Regions from separate parts of the Homo sapiens genome. Here regions 2, 3 and 4 are each linked to region 1. Evidence: promoter capture Hi-C in 16 types of primary human blood cells and fetal thymus (Javierre and others, 2016). All regions are on one chromosome and are shown on one strand. Each heading gives the region's core, a stretch centred on a gene start or on the middle of the fragment in contact. The rest is flanking DNA. Distances are from core to core; before and after follow the strand shown. Region 1 holds the start of UBAC1 (UBA domain containing 1). Region 2 overlaps CARD9 (caspase recruitment domain family member 9). Region 3 overlaps CCDC187 (coiled-coil domain containing 187). Region 4 overlaps QSOX2 (quiescin sulfhydryl oxidase 2).

Evidence for each region. The method cuts DNA at HindIII sites, captures the fragments that hold promoters and counts their contacts. A CHiCAGO score of 5 or more calls a contact.
Region 2: a fragment that was not itself captured here is called in contact with the fragment with the promoter of UBAC1 in region 1 in 4 of 17 cell types (naive B cells, total CD8 T cells, total B cells and 1 more); the score reaches 7.2 in naive B cells.
Region 3: a contact is called between a fragment that was not itself captured here and the fragment with the promoter of UBAC1 in region 1, in 9 of 17 cell types (naive CD4 T cells, total CD8 T cells, total B cells and 6 more). The highest score is 7.3, in naive CD4 T cells.
Region 4: a contact is called between a fragment that was not itself captured here and the fragment with the promoter of UBAC1 in region 1, in 17 of 17 cell types (total CD8 T cells, naive CD4 T cells, naive CD8 T cells and 14 more). The highest score is 21.8, in total CD8 T cells.

Annotation. Positions count from the first base shown.
Region 1 is chr9:135,959,336-135,963,245 of GRCh38, forward strand. UBAC1 (UBA domain containing 1) reads right to left here and starts at 2,038. Exons shown (of 10, transcript NM_016172.3): 1 at 1,690-2,038. The coding sequence starts at 1,827. RefSeq lists silencers at 1,648-1,767, 1,778-2,187 and an enhancer at 1,658-2,158. The HindIII fragment of the contact is 10,703 bases long and covers 615-3,910 here.
Region 2 is chr9:136,364,476-136,368,385 of GRCh38, forward strand. It overlaps CARD9 (caspase recruitment domain family member 9), which reads right to left. Exons shown (of 13, transcript NM_052813.5): 8 at 3,162-3,353; 9 at 2,741-2,782; 10 at 2,325-2,370; 11 at 666-742; 12 at 8-84. LOC124902309 (a long non-coding RNA gene) reads left to right here. Exons shown (of 2, transcript XR_007061863.1): 2 at 3,149-3,910. Among named protein-coding and RNA genes, the nearest start is that of DNLZ, 2.7 kb to the left of the region's middle. RefSeq lists enhancers at 1-736, 737-1,626. The HindIII fragment of the contact is 358 bases long and covers 1,597-1,954 here.
Region 3 is chr9:136,263,241-136,267,150 of GRCh38, forward strand. CCDC187 (coiled-coil domain containing 187) reads right to left here. Exons shown (of 26, transcript NM_001378188.1): 17 at 2,716-2,803; 18 at 382-558. Among named protein-coding and RNA genes, the nearest start is that of QSOX2, 19 kb to the left of the region's middle. The HindIII fragment of the contact is 7,726 bases long and covers 1-3,910 here.
Region 4 is chr9:136,240,208-136,244,117 of GRCh38, forward strand. All of the region lies in intron 1 of QSOX2 (quiescin sulfhydryl oxidase 2), which reads right to left. Among named protein-coding and RNA genes, the nearest start is that of QSOX2, 3.6 kb to the right of the region's middle. The HindIII fragment of the contact is 3,219 bases long and covers 36-3,254 here.

The DNA.
Region 1 (3,910 bases), core at 788-3,287:
CAGCACCTCAGAGAAGTTTCTAGGGTTTTTTGTCTGGTTTTTTTTTTTTTTTTTTTTTGAGACGGAGTCTTGCTCTGTCGCCAGGCTGGAGTGCAGTGGCGCGATCTCATCTCACTGCAACCTCCGCCTCCCGGGTTCAAGCGATTACCCTGCCTCAGCCTCCCAAGTAGCTGGGATTACAGGCACACACCACCACGCCCCGCTAATTTTTTGTATTTTAGTTGAGACGGGGTTTCACCATGTTGGCCAAGATGGCCTCAATCTCCTGACCTCATAATCCGCCCACCTCGGCCTCCCAAAGTGCTGGGATTACAAGTGTGAGTTACCGTGCCCGGCCCAGAGAAGTTTTTTAAAATACACACAACTAGACAAGCAACACCACCTGGCTCAAACAGCCTGGATGCCCACGGAGTTACCGGCGCTGGAGCTTAGTGATGCCCCGATGGTTGTTCAGACGGCAAAATCATGCAGACTGGGGCAGAAGAAAAGCAAGAAAGCAGCCAAAACATACCGGCCCTTGAACGCAGGAGGCTCAGCCCCCTCCTTGGTGTGAATCCTGAGGCCAGCACCTCCCAGTTATTCACAGCCAGTGCGTTCCAGAAGGGGGCTTGCCAAGCTTGCCTCTGACAGTTCCAGAACTCCACAGAACCATGCTCACAAAAGCAACTCGAAAGTACTGTATGCGAGCAGCTACTATGGTAAGAACTGAAGTTTATCCTTAGAGACCACACTCAGCTCAAGTGTAACGCACTCAACCTGTCAACACAGATACGTCGTAACTTATCACATGGAGTCGCCACTAGAAAATTGCAGCCTCCTTCAACCTAAATTCTGCCAAGCCCTCAGATCATGTCAGGTATAGACAGGAGGTCAGTCTGACACACAGACAGGCTTCTTAGCTGACCTTACTGAGTCCTTTAGAGACTCGAGAACTAGTTCCAAAAATCAGCAACCTAAGGAACTAAATACACAGGAGTATTTCAGGTGAATAAACTTTAAAAAGTGTCTCCGCGAGGAGACCCTACTCCTGGGACTTCTCTCTTGACCAATTTTACCTCTGCAGAAAAGCAGGGGCGCAGGGCCTTGTCCCGCAGCGGCACTATTTCAGGGACTCCAGCTAAAAGGCACAGTGGCCTGGGGCCAGCCAGGAAAAGAGCTCCAAGCAGCCGGCTCTGCGGGAAAGGGGAAGAGGAAGGAGAAGGGGCCTCTTCATGAAGGAGCCTACGTTAATTCTCAGCTCTCAAAGATGCTGCTGAAAAAAAACCTCACCCCAACAGCAAAAAGGTACAACTGCCGGAAAGTCCCGAGGCCCTGCTCCGTCGGCGACTTCACTCTCCAGGCCTCAGTTTCCCGATCTGCCCCTACCTCCCTGCGTGGCTGCAGAGTTAACTGAGAGGCTGGCGTGTACAGGGCTCGGCCGGGCGGCTGGCACGGGGCGAGCGCTTAGTGACCGGAGTCCGCCGGCCGAAAGGCCAGGCCCGGGACGAGCGTCCAGAGGTGTGGGATCCGAAAGGGGGAGAGTCGGGCAAACGGGCAGGAGGCGCTGCCTCCACCCCCGGAGGAGAGGGCCTGGGAGCTGCGGACTGGGCGGCGGACCCCAGGTCGGGGCGGTTCGGGGACTGAGGCGGGGTCCGCAGTCGGAGGGGTCCGGAGCGGGTGTTGGGGGCAGGGGAGGGGGCCCGGCCTTACGTGCTTGAGGCAGCGCTCCTTGAGCTTCTCCACCGAGGTGTCCTCGGTGGCCTCCTCCAGCCACTCGGCGCCGTCGGACGCGCAGATGTGCAGCCGCAGCACCTTGCCCGCGAAGATCTTCTCCTCCTGCACGAACATCCCGCCGCCGCCGCAGGGGCCTGCGCCCGCCACCCGGGCCCCTGAAGGTCACCGGGAAGGCGGGCGGGGAGGGGGCGGGGCCAGACCGCCCGCGCGCTCCTTCGCTGGGCCGCCGCCCCGCCCCGGCTCCCGTCGGCCGGGCCGCCGTCACTCTCCGCGGCCTCAGCGGTCGCCTCGCTCCCGCCGCCGCAGCAGCCGCCGGGGGCGCGCCGTCGCGGCCGCACCGGAAGTGCGTCACGGGCGCGTCTGGCGCATGCCGGGAGATGTGGTTCTCGGACAGGCGCCTCGCTCCCGCCGCCGGGGGCGCGCTGTGGCCACCGCAAAGGAAGTGCGTCACGGGGCGCGCCCGGAGCATGCCGGGAGCTGTAGTTCTCTGGTAGCTTCGTTCCTCCCCGAGCTGCAGGCGGTTCCCACCCGGGGCACTCACCACGTGGGACCTCATGGGTTCTAAAGGTAAAATACACGCTGGATCCCAAAGAAGTAACGGGAAAAAGGAATGTAAGGCATCTCGATAATGTTTTCATATTGATTACATGTTGAAATAATATTTTGTATCTATTGAGTTAAGAAAAATATGTCATTAAAATTAATTTCACCTGTTTCTTTTAACCTTTTTAAGATAGAATTTTAAATTGCCTACATGGCTGCTGTGATATTTCTTTTGCACTGCACTGCTGTAGAACGGAGGCTCTCCAAAGAACTTGGCTTTAACAAGCCTAGGTCTTTCTAATTCACACGCAGATCAGAGAGTCACTGTTCCTGCGAAGCCTAGGTTTGCGGGGCACCCAGAGGGGAGGGAAGCCGCCCTTGGTGCAGGTGATGCCAGGCAGACTCATTTTCTGTGGGGTGTGACAAAGAGTCTTTGCTTGGCCAAACTTAAGCAGGCTCCTGAACCTTCTACATCATCTGTACACTTCCTTGTAAAATCCAGTTTTAGCGAAGAGCCTTGATAAGTGAGTTTAGCAAGAACTCCCAGCCTCAATATCAGATCACCCTGGACGTCTGGTCAGGTTCCTCGTCCCCCAGGTGCTGTCTGATATCTCCAGCCTCTCTTCAGCAAGAACCCTGTCAGGTCGGTTTAGCCAGAACCGCCCACATCCCTGATGTTTTCTCCTATTAATTTTCCATTCACTGACCCCACCCACTTGCCCTTGCTGTATTGGGAGTTGAGCCTGACCTCTCTCCCCACTGCAAGCCCCCTTGGCAGTGGTCTCTGTACCTAGCTCAACAGTCCTGGATAACGTCTTACTTACCATGCTCCTAAATATGAATTTTGTAGTTCAGGTTAGACCTGACACATTGACTGATCTGTACTCATTCATCCCATTCATTTAAAAAAACTTTACTGCGCAGAGATGAATAAGGCACAGTTCCCGTTCTCAGAGGTTAGCAATCTAACCGGGGAGGCTGTCTCTGCCTCCTGCCTGCAGGCTTTTATTCTGTCCACACCATTTTGCACACACATCCTCATTTTTCTCCTGTGATAATTCCAACCTCGTCCAGATTCCATGTGTCCAGTTCAGCACTTACTAATTGCCTCTCACAGGTGGGAGCCTCTGCTACTCAATGAAAATATGGTAGTGATTAAGACCAGACACCAGGATACAGTCCTGGAATGGGGCATTTTTAACGCAGGAAGCAGAAGTACCGACTGTTAGAGACCGCAGTGGAGGTGGTGGTAGTATCGTGGAAGCTGGTGGAGGAGAAAGGGGAGGAACACCAAGGTGGTGAGTGGAGAGTGGGGGAAGCTAGAGGGCTTGGAGGAGCCGGGTCAGAGCATTAAGACGTTGCTGTGAGAGCCACTAACGGTGTGACCAGGTGGCAGAATGAATGGTGGTGACTGTGGAGGGGACAGGGAAGAGGGCAGGGCATCCTTGCGGGGGAGCAATGCGGAGGGAGAGGAAGAGGAGAAGGGGGCTTCCAGTGGCCTGTGGGAGGGGAGGCCAGCAGGATTGGAGGGTGTGGGCCCAAGAGTGAAATCAAGGATGACTTGAAGACTTCCAGTGTGGGTGGCAGAGTGCAGGGCAGTGCCACCTTTTGAAGTAGGAGGCAGGAGGAGGAGCCATTGGCCAGGAAGGTGTTG
Region 2 (3,910 bases), core at 526-3,025, 400 kb after region 1:
CGCCTACCTGCGGTAGTTCTCAAAACTCTCTTTGAGGCGCCGCCGCTCCTTCTCGGGCGGCTCCCCGCTGCTCAGGCCTGCGTCCTGGAGAAGGGGGAAGGCTCGGGCTCCGGCCGGCTCCCCTGAGGGAACCCGTCCTTCTCACCCGCCCCCCACTGGCCCCTGTAACTGCAGACTGGTTGGGAGGCGAGGAGCCCAGACAGCCTCAGCTCAGCGCCAAGCTCTCCCTGTGGGACCTGCCTGTACCCCTGGAGGTGAGCCGGTGTGGGTAGCCTGCATTTCAGATGCCAAGACACACCCAGGAGGCCAAGCCACGGCTCCAGCCTGGGGTCCGGGCCATTGTTTCTACAACAAAGCCCGAGGTGGTGCTTGCTCTCAGGACTCCTGTGTTCACCTCCTCATCCACTGTAAAGGCCCTCGGAAAACCAGGACCAGGCACATCCACGTCCAAAAAGCCCCCCAAGCTGCTGCAGTGCCCAAGAAAGGGGGATCCACTTCGCAGCCCAGACACCGCACCCCGAGCACTGTGGGCAGAGACCTTGTGGTCACTCCTCAGCTGTCGTCGGGGCCACCGCAGGGGGTGCCCAGGGCAGGGAGCCACTCTCCCTGTGATCGGTCACCCTGAGGCCCACGGCTGGGAGGACCCCACCCCGGGGAAGCCTTACATGGGGGTTCCGCAAAACCTGCTCCTGGTGCAGAGCTGCAAAGGGCTGTTTCGGGCTCCCCCCGCCGGCAAGGCAGCCTGGAAAGGAGAGTCGTGCCTGTGGGACCTGCCCATCTGCTGGGCCACGTATAGCACGGCTGCCCCACCCCTCCCCGGCATTGCAGTGGGGCTGTCTTCCAAGGCCTGGTGGGATCCCCACATGGGTCCAGTGTAGACTCTGCTTTCTGTAGATGAGACTGAGGCCTTATGGCCTCGCTTGCCTGTTCATTGCTCCAGGAGGCCGCCAGATGCCAGCCCAGGCCCAACGCTCCCGCCAGTGACCATCCCTCCCCCGAGCTGGCTGCCTGCCAGGGAGGAACGCCTCCCAGACCTCGGGGGAACTTAAACCCTGGGCCTGAGCAGCACCGTCCCCCATCACTCCAAAGCATCTGTGGGCATGGCGGCCCTGGGGAGAGAGTTGGGGACAGCTACAGTGGCTGTCTGGGTCCTCCTGAAGTGGGGGCAGGGGTACTGCAGCAATTGGGAGAGAACCTTCAGGCGGCTGGACCCCCTCAGAAACCGCCAGGACCTGGGCAGACCAGGGATCAGGACCCTTGGGCAGAAACCACGCACGTCCAGTCTCAGCCCCACTGCGGTGAGGGCCAGGCCAGGGCTGTCCTGGCCATTGGCAGCCCCTTAGAGCCAGCCCCTCCCCTGCTCACCCTCCAACCTTCACACCTGCCCCTGCTCCTGCCACAGCCACCCAGGGGGATGGGGGCAGTGCCTGAGCCGGACTCCTGGGTCCTGCTCGCCTCTGTGCCTACATGGGGGCTTGGCATCCCCATGTTCAAGTGTTCTGAGCTGCAGCCAAAGGCGCTGGTCTTCACTTCCCCGTCTGCGGCTCCTCCTTCCCCTTCCGCCTCTGCTTGGAGGCCACGGCCTGGTACTCAGGAAGCTTGTCCAACTCCGGTGCAGCCTCCCAGGACCCCTCTGCTGGGCCCTCCCCAACCCCTACCTGACAGCACCTTCAGTGCAAACACCTACCTCATCACCACTGCCCACTCCTGGACACTCGGGAGCTGCTCCCAGCTAGCCACCCAGTCCTTCCCCCAGACAGGCAGAGGGGGCCTGCCCTGCCCGCTAGAAGCCCCTGCCACTGCCTTACCCCCACTGCACCGGGACACAGCAGGCCCTTGGCCACCCCTGCATTCAGCCCTTTCCCTCAAGCCACGTGGGGCCCCATCTCGCCCCATCTTCTAGCTTCATGCACCTGGTCGTTCGCTCGTTACCACCTCCCTCTGTCCAGGAGGAAGCTTGGAGCAGCCAGGACTGGGCCTGCTCACCTCTGCACCCCGTGGGGGCTGCCCAGAGGGGCCCCACACTCTCAGGACGGTGGGCCTGCTCACCTCTGCAGCCCATGGGGGCTGCCCAGACCCCCACACTCTCCACCCCAGGGGACACTTGTCCCACTAGCTGGGGCCCTGGGTTCCAGCTGGGCTCTGTAGTTTGTTCTCTAGGTGACCTTGACCATTTTACTTATCCCCAGCCCCAGTTTCCCTGTCTGTGGAGTGGGGGTTGTGGGGGTTGACACAGGCATTGCGGCACGGGCTGCCTGTGCTGAAGATGGGCCTCACTTGGGGAAGCTGGGAGGCCTCTGGGTGTACTGCTGTCCCCACCTCACCTTTGTCTGAGAGCTGGGTGTCCTCCAGGTCCTGGGGGAGTGAGAGCTTCCAAAGAGAGTCAAGATGTCCCATTAGGCCACTTCGCCAAGGACTGGACCCGGCCACACTGCCCACCCCAGCCCTTGGCCCTCAGCTGGGTGCAGCCATTGCCGTCACCCCCTGCACAGAGCTTCTCAGAGACTCAGGTGCCCAGCAGACGGACATTGGGCGGCCAGGAGGTGGGCACTGTCCGTGCCTTACCTTACCCCTTGAGCCATCAGAGGCCTTAGCATTTGGCCACCTGCTCTTCCTCCACCCAGCCCAGCCCACCGAGCAGGGCCATGTGACGGGCAGTGTGGGGCTATGCCTGGTGGCAGCTCAGCCAGGACCCCAGGTGAAGGAAGGCCAGCCTCGTGCTGGCTGGGGTCTCACTCACCTCCTGGGACCTCCTGGGTGAGCCATCTTCCAGGTCGGAGCTCTGTGGTCATAGAAAATGGGGTGGGTGGGCTGTGAGGGCAGAGGGCTCCCCAGGCACAGGGTGGGCAGGGCACAGAGCGGGATCCTCCAGGGAGCCCTGGGCATGCCCTCAGCCACACCAGGCCCCCTCCATGCCCAGAACAACCTGCTAGGCTGCCTGATGGCCAGGCCCAGGACCCACCCCGGCCCTGCAGCCCCACTTCCTGCTGGGACCCTGAACTGCTCGTGTGCCCTCACCCCACTGCCAGGAGGGGTTTGGTTAGGTTGGGGCCCGTCACAGAGAAGGGTTGGGTCGGGAAGGCCGGGGCTGAGGCTCCGTGCTCCCCTGGCCCTGCATCCCACGCGCCGGCTCCCCTCCCTGCCGCAGGCCCCAGGCCCACCAGGACGAGCGTCTCCAGCTGCTGCCGCCTGAGCCTGCCCTCCACGGCCAGTAGCTGCGCCTCACACTGGAACACCTGCAGCTGCAGCTCATCCGCCTTCTCGCCCAGCTCCCGCACCTGCTTGCGCAGCGCGTCCTTCTCCTGCAGGCCCCGGGCGTGCTGTGCGTGCAGCTCCTCCCGCGTGGCTATGGCCTGACGGGACAGCACAAGGCCGACCCTCAGTGAGGGCCCCAAGCTTGCCCTGGGCCCTCGGCCCGGCCGCCCAACTCCAAGCAGAGGCTCCGGAGGACGTCAAGCCGCTGGGCGCGGAGGCTGGTCACAGCCCCTCCATTTGTGTGCTCTGCGGACACGAAGTCAGCACGTGGGGGATTGTAAATGTGACAGTTGTCCCTGCTGCCCTTCTGTCTCCTCCCAAGCCTGCACCCCCGGTGGACACAGCGTGTGCTATGTACCCCCACACGTGCACATTTGATAAATTTTGGACGCGGCTTGATATGGAGACCCTGACTGTCCATAGCTAAGCGTCCTTCGTGACCGCAGCACTCTTTACCACCCCTGTCCTCACTGCGGACACTGAGACGCAGGAGCGAATGTGCAAACACGACGGCTTGACCACCCCTGCAGCCGAGGCTGGGAGGCCCTCACCTAACCCCTTCTGCCCAGACTGGAGCAACGGCTGGCAGCTTCCCTAATCCCTGGCCAACGCGCTCCCGGGAAGTCCCGTGGGAGCCCCCGCCCTGGGAGCCACA
Region 3 (3,910 bases), core at 996-3,495, 300 kb after region 1:
TTTTTTTTTTTTTTGAGACGAAGTCTCCCTGTCGCCCAGGGTGGAGTGCAGTGGCATATCTCGGCTCACTGCAGACTCCGCCCCCCGGGGTTCATGCCATTCTCCTGCCTCAGCCTCCCGAGTAGCTGGGACCACAGGCACCCACCACCTTGCCTGGATAATTTTTTGTATTTTTAGTAGAGACGGGGTTTCACTGTGTTAGCCAGGATGGTCTCCATCTCCTGACCTCGTGATCCACCCGCCTCGGCCTCCCAAAGTGCTGGGATTACAGGCGTGAGACACCGCGCCCGGCCCACAGGCATTTTTACAAGGGACTTGCACGATCATGGGAAGGGGACAGCATTTCTGCAGCTGAGTCCCAGCCCAGGCGAGAGCACCCACCTGCTGCAGCTTGGCCTGGGCCTGCAGCTCGTGCGCTGGGACGACGTCCGTGGGCCCCGGGATGGGGAGGATGTCCACAGGCCCCGGCATGGAGACGACGTCCCTCTGATGCTGCAGAAGCAGCTTCCTGTCCCGGTGCCTGAACAGCTGCGTGTGTCTCAGGTATTGGATTTCCCTCTGAGCAGGCAAAATAAGCAGATGTCAGCATAACCCCGGAGCCAGCAGGGGAAAAGGCCAACAAAAGGGAAGGGGTGTCTGGGGGGATGCCCTGGCCCTCACACTGGGAGGCCTCCCTTTCCCTCCAATTGGCCTTTGCCCGCCCCTCCTGCCGGGCCTAGGATACCCCCATGGCCTTGGGCTTCCCTGGGCTTGGTGGAGGAGGCAGCTGCGGGCGGCAGGAGGGAGGCAGGTACTCTTTCCCCAGGGCCCACGCAGGGCTGGCACAGGCTGGCTGGGCCTCGCCCTCCCTCTCTGCAGGCTCCAGGCACTGCCCCCACCCCGTCACTCCTTTACAACTGTTCTTTCTGTTCCCCACAGCGTCCCTGGTGGACGCACCCTCGGAACAACCTTGCACAGAGCCCAGGGCCGGGCCGGGCCGTTGCACACTCGCCCTGGGAGACAGCAGCTTCACTGGTGAGACGGGAAAGCGAGGCTCTGCCAAGCGGGTGTCTGGTCCATGGCCCCACTGGGGAGTCCCAGACCCCACCTCCACCACGGCATCTCTATCTGCGACACGCAGCCTGGCTGTGGCTGGGAGTCCCTGGCCCCGGCCAGCTCCAGCTCCTCCCGCCTGGGATCCCTGGGCAGCGCCTGTTCTGCCAGGCCCCGTCGTTGCCATGTGACATGCAGACCCCTTCTAAGCCCCTTTTGTTTCCCCGGCTCACGTTGTTCTCTGTGGTGCCTGCCTTTTCCTGTTTCTCCGTATCTGAGAGGACCTGTGCATGGGTCTGTGGCCTGGGTCTCCGCCCCCAGCTCCCTTGCCTGTAATGCCCCATGCCTGACACCCCAGGTCGTAGTATGTACAGGGCATCCAGGGCAGGGATGGGGATCCCGGGGCTTTCCAGTCAACATAAGGTCCTGCACTGACCCCATTTCCCAGCAGAGGGTCGTGGGCAAAGTAGTCCCCCACCCCAGCTCACCTTTTTTTTTTTTGAAACAAGGTCTCACTCTGTTGCCCAGGCTGGAGTGCAGTGGTGCAAGCTCAGCTCACTGCAGCCTTGACCTCCCAAGCTCAAGCAATCCTCCCATCTCAGTCCACCAAATAGCTGGGACTATAGGCATTGGCCACCTATAGTGGCAGATTTATTTTTTGTAGAGACGGGGTCTTGCTATGTTGCCCAGGCCTGTCTCACATTCCTGGGCTCAAGCGATCCTCCCACCTTGGCCTCCCAAAGTGCTGGAATTACGGATGAACTGCCTCACCCAGCCAGGTTCTTTTATCTGTACCAAGGGTGTTAGCGCCAGCCTCTGCCCCACAGCATGGGGGCACTGAAGTGAGGATGCAGGCACAGCGGCCGCGACCTGTGAGGAGCCCTTGAGCCTGTGACCTGGGCAGGGGCCGGCAAGGGTCCTCGTCCTGGCTCTCAGGCTTGCCCCTCAGCCTTGCTCTCTGCCGCAGGCAAAGCCCTGACTCTGGCAGCTTTTCCCCCCTCCACATGTGCCCCCAGCACCGACTTTCCCTGGGGGTCTGCTTCCTCCAGTCCCTGGTGACAACGATGGCAGGAAGGCAGGTGCAGCCACGGATGGAGACCCCTCCCTGCCAGGCGCGGCTAGGGATTCACCTGCACCACCCTCCCAGCCCCCATGCATGTGCACATCAGGCTTCTCCCCATTTTTCAGATGAGGGAACTGGGCTCGGAGCAGCTGGGAAAGTCCTCTGAGGGCGTACATGGCACACGTCCACCCGGGTAAGTGCTGGCTGCACTAAACTCTCCCAACCCCCTGCTTTACAGAGACCACAATTATTCTCTGGTTCCAAGGAGGAAACTGAGGCTCCAAGAGACAAAGCCACTTGCTCAAGGTGACATCCAGCAAAAGGCTGAGCCTGGTCTGGAGCCAGGGCCACAGGGCCACCCTCCACTCTGGCCACGAGGCCCCCAGAAGGCCGCAGACACTCCTTGTGTACAGGACCACGCTCCACCCTGGCCGTGATGCCCTCTTGGGCCGTGGACACTCCTTCTATACTTCGGGGTCCTGTATGGCCCTGGAGGGTGGCAAGGGCTTGGGAATTCTTTAGCTCTGTTGCTGGGGAATGTTCAGATTCCAGGCAAGAAGATGACACGACTGCCTCTGTGAGCCGCCCACCCTGACCCACCAGGCCTGTGCTGGCCCCACCTGCTCCTTCTCCAATCTGCTGAGGGCTTGCTGCTGCTTCTCAACCAGCGCGGCCAGCACAGCTCTGTCCCTCTTGCTGTCCAGGCACCTGGGGGGAGGTGGCAACATCACTGCCAATGTTGACAGCCCGTGCAAGTGGATATAGAAAGTCACAGACACAGCCAGCCCTGGTCGGCCACATCAACCTGGAATGCCCTCCCAAGGTGCAGGCACCAGGGAGGACGCAGCCATGCGTGGACAGGCTTGGAAGCCTTGGGGTGGCCAGATGGCCCAACCCGGGCTGTCACTCTTCCACCCCTCACAGCCACTTTTGGACTTTTGGGTCTAAAGAGACAAAGGCTAGCCGAGAGCCGCCCCTGCCACCCTGAAGGCCCAGCCCAGGCCAGTGGGTCCTCTGGGGAGGGAGGTGGGGGTCACCCACATCCACCCCCCACCCATCATGGAATAAACACCCTCAGTCTGGCCCGCTCAGACACCGGGTGAGGATGTTAACTGGAATCACCTTTCTGGAGACCAATGTGGCAGTATCAAGCGGCTTCCAGATGCATTCTCACTGACCCGGTCATTCCATTTCTAAGGTTTTACCTTAAGGAAATGATCTCTCTATCTTCATTAATAATGGCAAAACGTTGGAGACAACCTAGAGGCCCGGAGATCCGGGACAAGCGAAGGGAGTTACAGCCCTGTCTCTACGCCGGTGCGCCCTGTGTGTTATAGCGGTTATGTAGCTACACAGAAAGGTTTTCCTGACATATAAATTGAAAACGCAAGTTACAAAACAGCACGTACTGCCCATTTGCAAGTTGAAATAGCCATGTGTGTTTCTCCCCAAAACAGAGTATCCGCACTGGGCGTGGTGGCTCTCGCCTGTAATCCCAGCACTTTGAGAGGCCGTGGCTGGCGGATCAACTGAGGTAGGGAGTTCGAGACCAGCCTGACCAACATGGAGAAACCCCATCTCTACTAAAAATACAAAATTAGCTGGGCGTGGTGGCGCACACCTGTAGTCCCAGCTACTCGGGAGACTGAGGCAGGAGAATCCCTTGAACCTGGGAGGCGGAGGTTGCAGTGAGCCTAGATCGCGCCACGCGCCTCTACACTCCAGCCTGAGCAACAAGAGCGAAACTCTGTCTCAAAACAAAACAAAACAAAACAAAAAAACAAAGTATGCACAAAGATGATCTCAGAGGTCACC
Region 4 (3,910 bases), core at 395-2,894, 280 kb after region 1:
GGACTCCAGTCTTAAAAATACTTGGGAAATAATTAAGCTTCTATATATAGTAGATTAACATTTATTTCAAATGTGCTTGTCAAATAACTCTAATACTGAATCTAACAAGGTTAACTCTTTACTGCTTGTCACGTTCTAATGAAAAAGTCTACAGAAGTCTAATGTATAGTCCAGTATCAAATCGTTCTAGAAAATGATTACAGTAAAGATAAAACAATCTCCCAAGTTGAAAGGCAACTAGGGAGCTGTGTTTAAGGGACAGAGGTCCACTGCAGCCTCTCCTTCCTGAGTCAGGGCCATGCTGGGGTCTCGAACTCCGCATACCAGTCCCTGGAGAAGACCCTCTCTGGGTGGAGCCCCCTCTTGGCTGAGCAAAGGTCTTCTTAGCTAAGCTCCAAGTTCAAGGCACAAGTTTGGAATAACAGGCCTGGGTAGAAATGAAACCCACCTAGCGACCAGGAGAGCCTAACACAAATCACCTAGAAGTTGCCAAGGGCTGGTCTGAGAAAACCCGGGCACACGCTACGGTCGCCTCATCTGGGGACTGAGGGCAGGGCTGGGTCCCATGGACTCTTGATCCCCAGCATTTAACTCAATTCTGGTAAACCAAAACTACACGTTCTTCAGCCTCGAAGGGTGCTCCGAGGTGACAGCAATTCCAATGCTGTTTATCTGTTGGTAGGGAATGACAGTCCCTCAGCCCGTCCTCTGTCAGGGAAGCCCAAGCAGTGCTTATGACCTGGGTCACCCCATGGCACGACGACCGGCATGACACAGCGGAGACGGCTCCCTGGACGTGGCTGTAAGGCCCTCTTAGCAAACCATCCCGTCTTACTTCAACAACAAGTAAGTGGCCTGGGTCTCTCGGTGTAGTCTCAGACGCACCAACCACAGCCACTGGGGAGGCCAGCGGGGAGCCCGGCTGCTCCGATGCACCATCCTTTCTGTAAAATACTCATGTGGTCGCCACAGCGGGGCTACATTAAGCCATTTCTGGGCCCGTAAGGAGACAGGAGGCCTCCACTGCCCAACTCTTCCTCCTTCCACCCTCTCCATCCTCCCGAGTCCAGTGAGCACCTGGCAGCTCTCACGGGCCGTCAGCCCCGCCAAATGCCCGCTGACACCTGCATGTCCCCCTCCCTCTGGCCCTTATTGTTTCTTTTTCCAGTAAACGGACAATGAGCCTGTGGGGAACACCAAGTTCTAATTCATCTCCAAGAAGCCTGCAGCCTAGTCGAGTAGACAAGAAACCAGACCAAGTGGGACAGAGGAGCTGGCAGCAATCACAGAATGCCCTACCCTTCCTTCAAGAGATGTCGGATGTGTCCAGCTCCCAACCCCCACCTGTCCTCTACAAAGACACAGGAATGAACTGCCATGGCTCCAGGTCACCCACACCTGGACACCCATCCCGGCCTGTCACTCAGCTGCGTGACCGTGACTATCCCACGCAACCTCACGTGCTATCACCTGCAACATGAGCGCCCCCGCACTCCTGAGGACAGGTGTGGGAGGACTCGGCCTGTTCCACGCAACCTCATGTGCTATCATCTACAACATAAGCGTTCCCGCCCTCCTGAGGGCAGGTCTAGGAGGACTCAGCCTGTTGTGGGTGGTGGCCTGCCCTGTTTTCTCAGGCTGACCAAGTGAAGGAGATGGGAGGGAACAGGCACCAGGGCCACAGAGGGCGCACGGGGACACAGGCCCTGCCTTTAGGGTGCACCCTCTTGTCCACTCAAGACTGCAGAGGCATTTCGGAGATCTCACCGGTCAGACGGGCCAAAGTGTAGCCCCAGGCCCTGGTGCCTCATCTTCCATCACAAACCCAGCAACCATCACTGCCAGGCAGATCTTCAGGAACCCAACAAGGTTTTGTTCTGCAAAGTACTTAGAAGTGACAGGCTTAAGCCAAATCTCCACAAACACTAGAATGACACTTGGTCACACCAAACAGTACAACTTTTGTTTCTTAAGCCACCTTCTTATAAGAAAAAACATTTATTTTCCCAGCCTTGAAAAAGCCAGTCAAGAGCTAAAGTTCAATCCAAATTTCTGAGGAAAACAAAGGTGCCCTGGCCTGTCCTGCTCCTTCCAGCTGGAGGCTCCTGGGAAGCAGAGCCCACACCTAACCATCCTCTCCAGCAGCCACAGGCATGAAGAACGCAGGGCGTGGCGGGCGCTGGCCAGGGGGACCAGTGGGAGAAGGCGGCTGGACACTCTAGGTAGAAGTGGGGGCCCAAGCCATGGCCTGTGTGCCCCCAGGGGATCAGCAGGATGACCTAAGTCACAGGTGATTGATCAGGGCCACAGGTGACTGATCTGAGTCAGGTCAACAGGGACATAAGAAAACATGAGAATGTTGACAACGGGAATGCCTGCATGCAGCCAGACCCCTGCACTGCCACGGGCAATGGGCGCCCTATCCCTGTGGGACAGCTCCACGCAGGGATGACAGACAGGGAGCCAGGCGCCAAGCAGACAGTTCTGAGCTGGCAGGTCTGGGCTGGGGCTGTGGAGAAGCAGGCATTTCTAACAAGGCCCTAAGTGGCCCTACTTTGAGAGTCCCAGCCTTAGAACAGCTCCGGGGACTCCTCAGTGCCAAGGGCCTTTCATCCCTTTCTACCCGGACTCTACCTCCCACAAGCCTCATGGGCACAGCTTGGCTCTCAGGACTGTAAACCAAAAATAAAATCCTGAGTCCCCTAACTGACTGAATTGAACCCCCTCTTGGCCAAGGAGACCCCAGGGCAACCTGAGGAAAGAAATTCCAGGCCCTGACGGCAAGGGAGGTCAGACACGCCTGGTTACATCACCTCCCTTTGGAGTTTAGGCAGAGCTGACCAGCGTGATGAAACAGAGATCACAGACAGACAGCACAGCCTCAGCAGCAACGACACCAAACTCCAGCCTGACTCGGGTACAGCACCACATGACAAATAGCACACCCTGCAGGAAATCAAAATATTTCACCCCCAAATACATTTATTTCCCTGACATATTTGAAATGGTCCTGCAAAGCTGTCTTTTGTGAGGGAAATTTGCATCTGTAGAGAATCTCCCTCCCTTTCTAGGTCTTTCCTGGATCTAGGAGACATTTAACGAGTCTGACAGCATTCAGGTCTGAAAAGAGACATTTACCCTCTATTCTCCCCAAGGCTGCTGCCTGTGAGGCTTCATCTACTTAACCTTGGCCTCCACAGCCCCTTTAGCTTAACTCAAGCATTTCTCTTTGCTGACTTCAAGTCTTTAGACAAAGCTTAACTCTTTCAATCAATTGCCAGTCAGAATCCACCTATGATCTGTAAACCTACCCCTTCCTATACCTTACATGTACTGATTTATGTCTCTCTGCCTATAACTTCTGTCTCCCTAAAATGTATAAAATCAAATTAACGTGACTGCCTAGAGCACACTTTCTTAGGACCTCTTGACACTGTTCCCCTGGCCATGGCCACTACACTTATTGGCTCAGAACAAACCTCTTTCAGTATTTTATAGTTTGGCTTTTTAGCCAACAGGACCCTCTGCCTGGGCTCCCTGAAGCCCTCTCCCTGCTGCCTGGTCAGGTCACCGCTGTCTTTCACTTTCAGCCATATCCTCCTCCAGTCTCAGTCTCAGGCACAAGCCTGTTCTTCCTGTCGTGACTGGGAAGACAGTCAGCCTCACTAAAGGAGGCTTACTGAGTTGAGTTCATCACACCACTGGGTATGGACGTTACTGTGTGGCTCTCAGGAGGGGCCTTCCTTCTGAGCTCCAGGGACAGTTCTCAAGGCTGCCTATGTGCTGCTTCGGTTACAGAATTTGCAATATTTGAATCTGGTACGATCTTTAGACTTCAGCGACTCAACTGAAAAAAAAAAATCAAAACCAAAACCCACAAAAAAAGTGACCAAGTCCTGCCAGGGCCACC